Linked DNA regions of Homo sapiens: all the other regions are linked to region 3. Evidence: promoter capture Hi-C in 16 types of primary human blood cells and fetal thymus (Javierre and others, 2016). All regions are on one chromosome and are shown on one strand. The core of a region is centred on a gene start or on the middle of the fragment in contact, and the rest is flanking DNA. Distances in the headings are between cores, read along the strand shown.

Region 1 (2,777 bases), core at 171-2,670, 1.5 Mb after region 3:
AAAAAGATTTTTTGAAAACCTCTGTGAATGACTCAGCCAAGTTACAGACAGAAGTGGAATCTATCGGTCATGCTGAAAAGGTTGGGAAAACATTAATCCATTTCTTCACACACAAGAATAACAAAACTTCGTAACTAGCCCTGGCATCTGGTTGGTTTTCTGTGTACAATATTCAGCAGGCCTACAAAAGAAATTTGATGGAGCTGGCTTAGAACTTTAGAAATCACTGGTATTCAGAAAGTCTGATCTCTTTATCATGGAGCATAGGACAGGATCTGATCTTGCATTGTGACGCTATCTGCCCATCTGCAGTTGAGCAAGTCTTGCTGCTCCTGAAGGAATGTGCAGTCATTCTTGTTCCTGGCTTTGAAGAGATCATGTCAGACAAGGGTGGCCCCACCAGCTTTCCTTGACTCAAGTCTGCCCTCAGCTACTGAGAACCTCATAATTCAAGTTTTACAAATTCCTTTTCTTCCCAAAGTGGAACATGATTGGATCTTTGTTTCTGTTAATTCTACAAACCGCCTTAGAGTCCAGCTCGATGGTCTTTTCCCTCCTCCTTTATTTTGTTCTCTTTTCCCCCAAATCCAGATCCTACTTATCCTCTAAGCCCACCCCAAACACCCACTTTAGGCCCTCCTTGATCCTTTTTTAGTCTCTATAAATCTGACCTGTAAAAATGGGGATAATGATGCTACTGTGCATAGTTCATAATATTACAGAATAATGGGCCAGGTGCGGTGGCTCACGCCTGTAATCCCAGTACTTTGGGAGGCCAAGGTGGGTGGATCACCTGAGGTCAGGAGTTCGAGACCAGTCTGACTAACACAGTGAAACCCCCATCTCTACTAAAAATACAAAATTAGCCAGGCATGGTGGCACATGCCTGTAATCCCAACTACTTGGGAGGCTGAGGCAGGAGAATCACTTGAACCCAGGAGGGGGAGGTTGCAGTAAGCCAAGATCACACCATTGCTTTCCAGCCTGGGCAGCAAGAGCGAAATTATGTCTCAAAAAAAAAAAAAATTACAGAATAATAAATGAGAATCCACATCACATGCTTAGCACACTGTTCAGCACACAAAAGGACCCAATAAATGTTATTTTACTCTACACACCTCTCTTTCAACATTCATAACTTTCTACACTACATTACAGTTATTTGCCTGTGTTTCACTTTCCTGTCTAAATTCTAATTTTATTAAGTTTTGGGGTCATAGCTAATTTATCTTTGAACTTTCCCCAGCCCTTACATGTACACAGATTGTTTTACACCTATATATATTTTTCACAGTACATTTATCATATAGTTATGCTACATCTATATATTCACATACATTTATTCTATTTATATTGTTCATTCTGTACTGCTCATACTGAAAAACATGGTGTAAGTGAAATATACAATTATAACCCACATCTATAATTTACTGCCTGAATAAATACAATATAAGTGAGGTGTGACCATAATCATGAATCCCATGGCTTATGGAACCAGTTTAATTACAGTTGCATGTTTCCTAGTCTTTTCCTTTCTCTACTAGGAAAAAGTGGCACAGAAATTCTATTCCATTCTTCTGGGTAGGCATGTTATTCTTGCCTTTATCTTGGCCTACTGGTGAACAATGAAAAATCCCAGCTAAAAGTTGCAAATGAACAGTTCAATACTGAAACCAGGCACTTACTTTTTTTTTTATTATGGGGGTTGCTGGCCCTCACGAAAGGACGGTGAAATACACTCTGGGTTGCCTTAGTGGAAGGAACGCCTCTGAATTTTCCTGCTTCCTACACTGGTGTCACATTAGACATTTCACTTGTGTCTGTTTGGTCTCCCTAACCAGACTGTCATCAGAATATAAATATGGCTTCAGTTTGGTTAGTGTTTTTCCTTAATTCTATCATATTAAGTAATGCCTCACTAATTTCTGCAAGCCAGACTGTTTCCATCATCTTTAAAGGGGGAGTCCAAATTATTTGACCTAATAAAAGGTTGTTGTGTTGAGCGAAAGAAGCCAGACCCAAGAGTGCATATTGAATTATTCCATTTACACAAGATTTTTTTTAAAAAAACCAGACAAAACTAATATATCTGTTAGAAACCAGGGCAACGGTTACCTTAGGCAGAGGTGGTAACTAGAATGGAGTGTGAGAGATGTTTCTGGTGTGTTGATAATGCTCTGTTTCTTGATCTGGAGACTAGTTATGTGGGTGTGTTCCACTTGCAAAAAAATGCATCGAGCTCAAGATAAGTGTGCTTTTCCGTAAGGATATTTCATCTCAATAGAAAATTTGGCTTTTGTGTCAACTCTGCCTAAAGTAAGTGGGAAACTACAAAAACTGGGGACTTGGACATCTTTTAATCAAACTATGTATCAATGTCATTTCAAAGGTTTTGTTATGTGTCATCTTCCTTGAATGAGAATGGCAACAAGTTTTTTTTTTATCACACAGATTTCCTATGTGCCTTTTTTCCCCAGTCCTGATAGTCTATGAACCAACCAAACTTAGGGAAAAGTAAAACAGTTAAGTCCTGTATTTCCACCTTATTTACAATATAATGCCCTCTACAGAAAATAATCACAGAAACACAGAAAATGACTTCTCCAGAGATGAGAAATGTGCATGTGACGCCACTCTGAGTTATCTCCTTCAAGAAGTATGTATTCTATAATCTGGGAGAAGAGTAAATTAACACTCCAACTCCAAAGATCAATAATTATAATATGAGAGAGACAACAGTGGAAAGAATGAATGTCCTCAGGCTTAATTTACTAGCA
Region 2 (2,700 bases), core at 159-2,658, 1.5 Mb after region 3:
CAAATTTGATACATGAAACAATAGTTCAGAAAAGTGACCTATTCAATTTGTTTTAACCCAATGTTTCCCTAACATACTTGGCTATGAGACCCTTTTGTCAAATAATGCTATTAGCTTCCAATGGGATTTTTGTGAAGGGTGGCTCTAGACGTAATTGTGAAGCAATGTGATGCCCCCCCCCACCCCCCGCAACTTCATCTGTTTTGATTCCCCTCACTTCCAGCTGTTACACCTGATTGGAAATATCCTCCCAAGAGAAATTATATTATCATAAAGCTCCAAACAACACTTTACAAAAAGGTGCGATTTCAGGCAACGCCAGGGAAAACCACTTTGCATTGGGAATTTCTTGGATTCCTTAAATCCTACCTGGAATGGTGCCACCTTGTCTGCTCTGATGACCTCTGCAGGAGAGGAAAGGACTAGGGTTCCTGTTAGGAGCTTAAGTGCTTAGAAACAAAAGTGACCTCTTCATGAGGCAGACAATACTCTAGTCTCATAATTCAGAGGGCTTGAATTTGAGTATCAAGACAAACAGTTACAGCAAGTTCTGACTGAGCAGTGAGATCTCATAAAAATTCACCCAAATTTAGGTAATAGGAATTGATTCTACTACAGGTAAAGAAACTGAGTAAAGGGGACAGTGAAAGACCATCTGATAGTGTAAATTCCAGGCAGGTTCTAAATCTGTTTCCCAAGGAGCTTTCTGGATATAACATTCAGTCCTTCTACAAATTACAGAGAGATCACAGAACCTCTCAAAACAAGCAACAATTAAAACGTGGCAGCTACAGAGTATGTGGGTAGACAGAAAAGGTTGGCTGTCAAGGAGCTGGTGGCTGGAGAGGCAAGGAAGCTGGTCAGTGCCCTCTGTCCCCTCCACCCTTCCTGAAACAATTGTAGTGCAAATGCATGTTCATTAATCAGCAAGTCCAAGCTAGGGCAGACTTTTCTGGCTCTGTTTGCAGTGCCAGGGCTCTTGCTCCAGCGTTGTCATGGGGAAGTTATTGTTGTCCTCCTGGCAACAGGTTACCTAGGTGAACGCCAAACAGCCCAACCTGGCCTAGTGAGCACTGGGCCTGTTCAGCCACTGTCCCCATGCTGCTTTGCCTGTCTTCTCCTTATACTCCCTCAATCCACACTACTGCCCTTATGAGTCACAGCATTCATTCTCACACACAAAGGTGCTACAGAAGGCCACTTACAGCGAACCTGGGGCTTGTCCAAGGCCATTTTGTACTCTGACCTTTAAAAGCATGCCCAGCCATGGGCAGTCATGCCTGCTCTCTTCAACCCACAACTACAATAAGAGCAGCTCTCAGAAGAGAAATCATTTCCACCTTTTTTTTTTTTTTTTTTTTTTGAAACGGAGTCTTGCTCTGTCACCCAGGCTGGAGTGCAGTGGTGTGATCTCGGCTCACCGCAAGCTCCACCTCCCGGGTTCATGCCATTCTCCTGCCTCAGCCTCCCGAGTAGCTGGGACTACAGGCGCCCGCCACTATACCTGGCTAATTTTTTGTGTTTTTAGTGGAGACGAGGTTTCACCATGTTAGCCAGGATGGTCTTGATCTCCTGACCTCGTGATCCACCCGCCTTGGCATCCCAAAGTGCTGGGATTACAGGCATGAGCCACCGTACCTGGCCCCATTTCCACTCATTTTTACTGAGCATCTTAGTGCCATAATTGAAACAAATTAGAAGCATAAGAAATAACTCCAGTGACGATCAAAGTCTATACCACAAAGTGAAATGAAGCCCTAAGCCAATTAACCTGTGAAATTGATCAATTAATTGTAGACAGCTAAACCAAATGGTTCAGTTAAAGTAAATCCTCAGTTGCTCGTAAACTTGCCAGATATAGCAAATAAAAAGATCTGGTAATGCTACTCCATAAAGGGCTTCTGCTCTAATCATCTGAATTATCACTTCTGCTCCACGTGCTTTCCTGTGCAAAGCCTTCAAGTGTGAAAAACAGGCAGAATTCAGTGGTTCTGGTGTCTATCTCCCTCACCAGCCCTGGGGATGGCGTTAACCTAGCTTACACCTGGCATCTCACCTGTAGTACCCTAAGTAGCCCGGGGTTAAACAAGGGCACTTTCAACACGGCTTAGGGTTTTAGTTTAAACCTGAAACATCAGGATCTATTTAGACCTCTCTTAGAGGCATCCATCCCTTTCAAGAAGCCTCAGAACACACTTGGCATCCCCTGGGTCCCTTGCCCTACTCTGAATTGCCCCAGGGTCCTTCCCCCATTGAACCAGATTTAACAGGATAAGGTGATTCTTCCCTCATTCCAGCCTTGGTGTTTGTATCCAGTTCCAAGAAATTCAGTTAGTTAATACAGAGCTATGACAACCTAAGGTAAAAATTTGCGGACTTCGGTAAATTTACTTGGTGACAGGTGATGAAGAAGAAAGGGCAGGGAGCAAGCAGTTAGAAAACCTGAGTTTGGAGATGATGTGCTGTGAGATCTTGAGTAAGTCATTACACCTCTGTGGGCCTCCATTTCCCAATCTGTTTGTTACCCATAAGCCACATGGCATGATATTAAAGTAGGGTCACAATAGCAGTAGAAAGCAATAGTTCTCTGGCTCTAGCCCACTGCCAACTCTTCTCCCTGACCTAATCTTGGGAGTCTCCAAAAAGCATCTCATGTGGATTCAAAATCAGTCCTCTCCATGGCCACATGTGATATATGGG
Region 3 (2,700 bases), core at 154-2,653:
TCCATTATGAACTTCTCCTTGGGGTCCAAACTTGTGTATAACTGCTTATCTGATACCTCTAATTATGTGTCTAACAGGAACCTTACCCTTAATATGTCCAAAACATAATTCTCTATGTTGTTCTTTATGTTATTGTTGTTTGCCCCACAAACAACAATATACTATTTTTCCCTGCCCTATCGTCCTCCATCTCAGCCAATGGCACATCATCTACTTTACTGCTCAAGTAAGAAATCTGAGTTACCCTTGACATTTTCCTCTCTACTCTGCCACGCTGAACCATAAGTTAGTTCTCTTAAATGTCCCTTACGTCACCACCCTAATGCAAACTATTACCAATACAATCTCTTGAGCTTCCAAATGTAATACATTTTCTAAAGAGAACCAGGGCCTATTCATGATTCTCACTTGCTTACAAGTCTTCAATGTTTTCTACACATGGTAATAGGAACGGAAATGTTTTCCTATTGTACAGAAAAAAAAATTCCCCATCATGACCTTCAAGGCCCTACAGAACCTAGTTCCACTCTATCCGGCTAACTTTATCTTGTACTCTAACTATACTCCTTCCTAGCTCCCATCTCAGGAACTTAGCCCATTATCGCCTCTGCTTGAAGTACTCCCTGAGCTTCCAAATCTCCGTTTAAAGATCACTTCTTCAGACTCCACTATCTGCCAACTCAGCATCCAGTTCGTTTCCTCCCAGCACTTAGAATCTGCGTACATTCAGGCAAACCGCCTAGCACTGGAGTTGGGGTTTGTGAAGTAGCACAGACAGGCTGATCAGGCCGAGCACGGGCTGGGATTCCGGAGTGAAGCTAGTCCACTCTAACCCGGCACGCAGGGCAACGTGGTGGGAGAGAGGTCGGAGTCCCGCCCTTCTTTTTTTTTTTTTTTTTTTTTTTGAGACGGAGTCTTGCTCTGTCTCCCAGGCTGGAGTGTAGTGGCACGATCTTGGCTCACTGCAAGCTCCGCCTCCCGGGTTCACGCCATTCTCCTGCCTCAGCCTCCCAAGTAGCTGGGACCACAGGCGCCCGCCACCATGCCCGGCTAATTTTTTGTAGTTTTAGTAGAGACGGGGTTTCACCGTGTTAGCCAGGATGGTCTCGATCTCCTGACCTTGTGATCCGCCCGCCTCGGCCTCCCAAAGTGCTGGGATTACAGGCGTGAGCCACCGCGCCCGGCCAGTCCCGCCCTTCTTGCCAGGCTCCAGTCAGTCCCAAACTCCTAGCCCAGAAAGAGGCCAGAGGAGACTGCCCAGTGGACAACAGCCCCGAGAGACCTTCCCGACTTCCAGCGCCCGGCAGGGTGCGAACCCCTCCCAAGAGCGACCGCTGAGCCTGCCACACTCACCGCACACGTGGGACCGAGACAGCTCGCGCAGCGGATCCCGACCGCCTCTCCGCTTCCGCTTCCTTGCCTTGCTCCGCCCCCGGGCCGCTTTTTTTCATCTTCCGCGGCGGATCAGGGACTAAGAGGTGGAGCTTCCCAGAGAATACAAAAATTCGGAATTTCTATTGGTCCGCTGCTGTTATGCCTCCTCTTGAGGCGCGAGGATTTTGGCCCTTGCAAGAATCCGTCGGGCGGAGGACGCGACAACGGCCACGGGAAATGACGTCATTAACCCTGTGGCTTCCGTGCTGGAAAGAGAGGGAGAGCTCTTGCGAGGCAGAACAGGCTGCTGAAGGACAGACCTGGCTGGCGCGGTTAATAAGAGGCCTGCATCCCGTAGCCTGAACAAATATTGAAGTAGCTAAAGTTTCTAAAGTGTGTTAATTTGCATACTTCCTCAGCAGTCCAGCGTGGAGGATAAAAGGGGTATCTTGTGAGTCGATTTGAATTGTAATCCCGTTTTTTTCACTTGCTAGCTGTGTGGCTCTGGGAAAATTACAGTTTTTATGAGCTTTGGCTTCCTGATCAATAAAATAGAAATAATTAAGTGATACGTGCAAAGCGCTTAGCATGGAACGCTCTCAATAAATGTTTGCCATTTTTAGTGTCTGCTCGTGCCTGGAAACTGCTGTTATTCCATTTTATACTTCAGGAAATAAGATTGTGGTTAGGATATATGCCCCATTTTCCAGATGAAGAAACTGACACCACAAACTTGCTCGTGTCAAGCAACAGAATTTTATTCTTTAACTGTTCTAGAGGCAAGAATTCCAAAATCAAGCTGTTGGCAGAGCCCTGCACCTTTTGAAGGCTCTAGGGGAGAATGCTTTGCTTCTTCAGCTTCTAACGGTTCCAGGCGGTCCGTGGCCTCTTGTTGCATGACTCCAATCTCGGCCTGTCTTCTAATGGCCTTCTCCTGTGCCTGTGCCACTTCTCTGTGTGTTTTTAGGACACTGAACATTGAATTTAGAGTCCACGGGGATAATCCAAGATCATCTCATCTGGAGGTCCTTAATCACATCTGCAAAGGCCCTTTTCCCAAATAAGGTCACTTTCACATGTCCTGGGAGTTAGGACATAGACATATCTTTTGGAGACTATTCAACCCACTGCATCTGTAAAGTTGAGGAACTGGCACTTGATCCCTGGTGCCAGACTTCAGATTTTACTGTCTTCCAACTTACTCCGTTTTCTGGCCACTAAGGAGTTAGAGTTGAAACTGGTAATTTAGTAGACTGTATGCTTCTTGATGACAGGGGCCATCATTACTTTCCAGGCACTTATCTCACTATGCAGCACATAGATACT

What was found. The method cuts DNA at HindIII sites, captures the fragments that hold promoters and counts their contacts. A CHiCAGO score of 5 or more calls a contact.
Region 1: a fragment that was not itself captured here is called in contact with the fragment with the promoter of PUM3 in region 3 in 7 of 17 cell types (naive CD4 T cells, monocytes, activated CD4 T cells and 4 more); the score reaches 10.9 in naive CD4 T cells.
Region 2: a fragment that was not itself captured here is called in contact with the fragment with the promoter of PUM3 in region 3 in 1 of 17 cell types (total CD8 T cells); the score reaches 5.4 in total CD8 T cells.

What each region holds. Positions count from the first base shown.
Region 1 is chr9:4,293,498-4,296,274 of GRCh38, forward strand. The region is part of intron 1 of GLIS3 (GLIS family zinc finger 3); the gene reads right to left. Among named protein-coding and RNA genes, the nearest start is that of GLIS3-AS2, 4.4 kb to the right of the region's middle. The HindIII fragment of the contact is 4,620 bases long and covers 1-2,777 here.
Region 2 is chr9:4,333,564-4,336,263 of GRCh38, forward strand. It overlaps a transcript of GLIS3 not described here. Among named protein-coding and RNA genes, the nearest start is that of GLIS3, 35 kb to the left of the region's middle. The HindIII fragment of the contact is 5,205 bases long and covers 1-2,700 here.
Region 3 is chr9:2,842,692-2,845,391 of GRCh38, forward strand. It overlaps PUM3 (pumilio RNA binding family member 3), which reads right to left and starts at 1,404. Exons shown (of 18, transcript NM_014878.5): 1 at 1,354-1,404. RefSeq lists enhancers at 433-994, 1,378-1,672, 1,496-1,735. The HindIII fragment of the contact is 3,665 bases long and covers 1-2,700 here.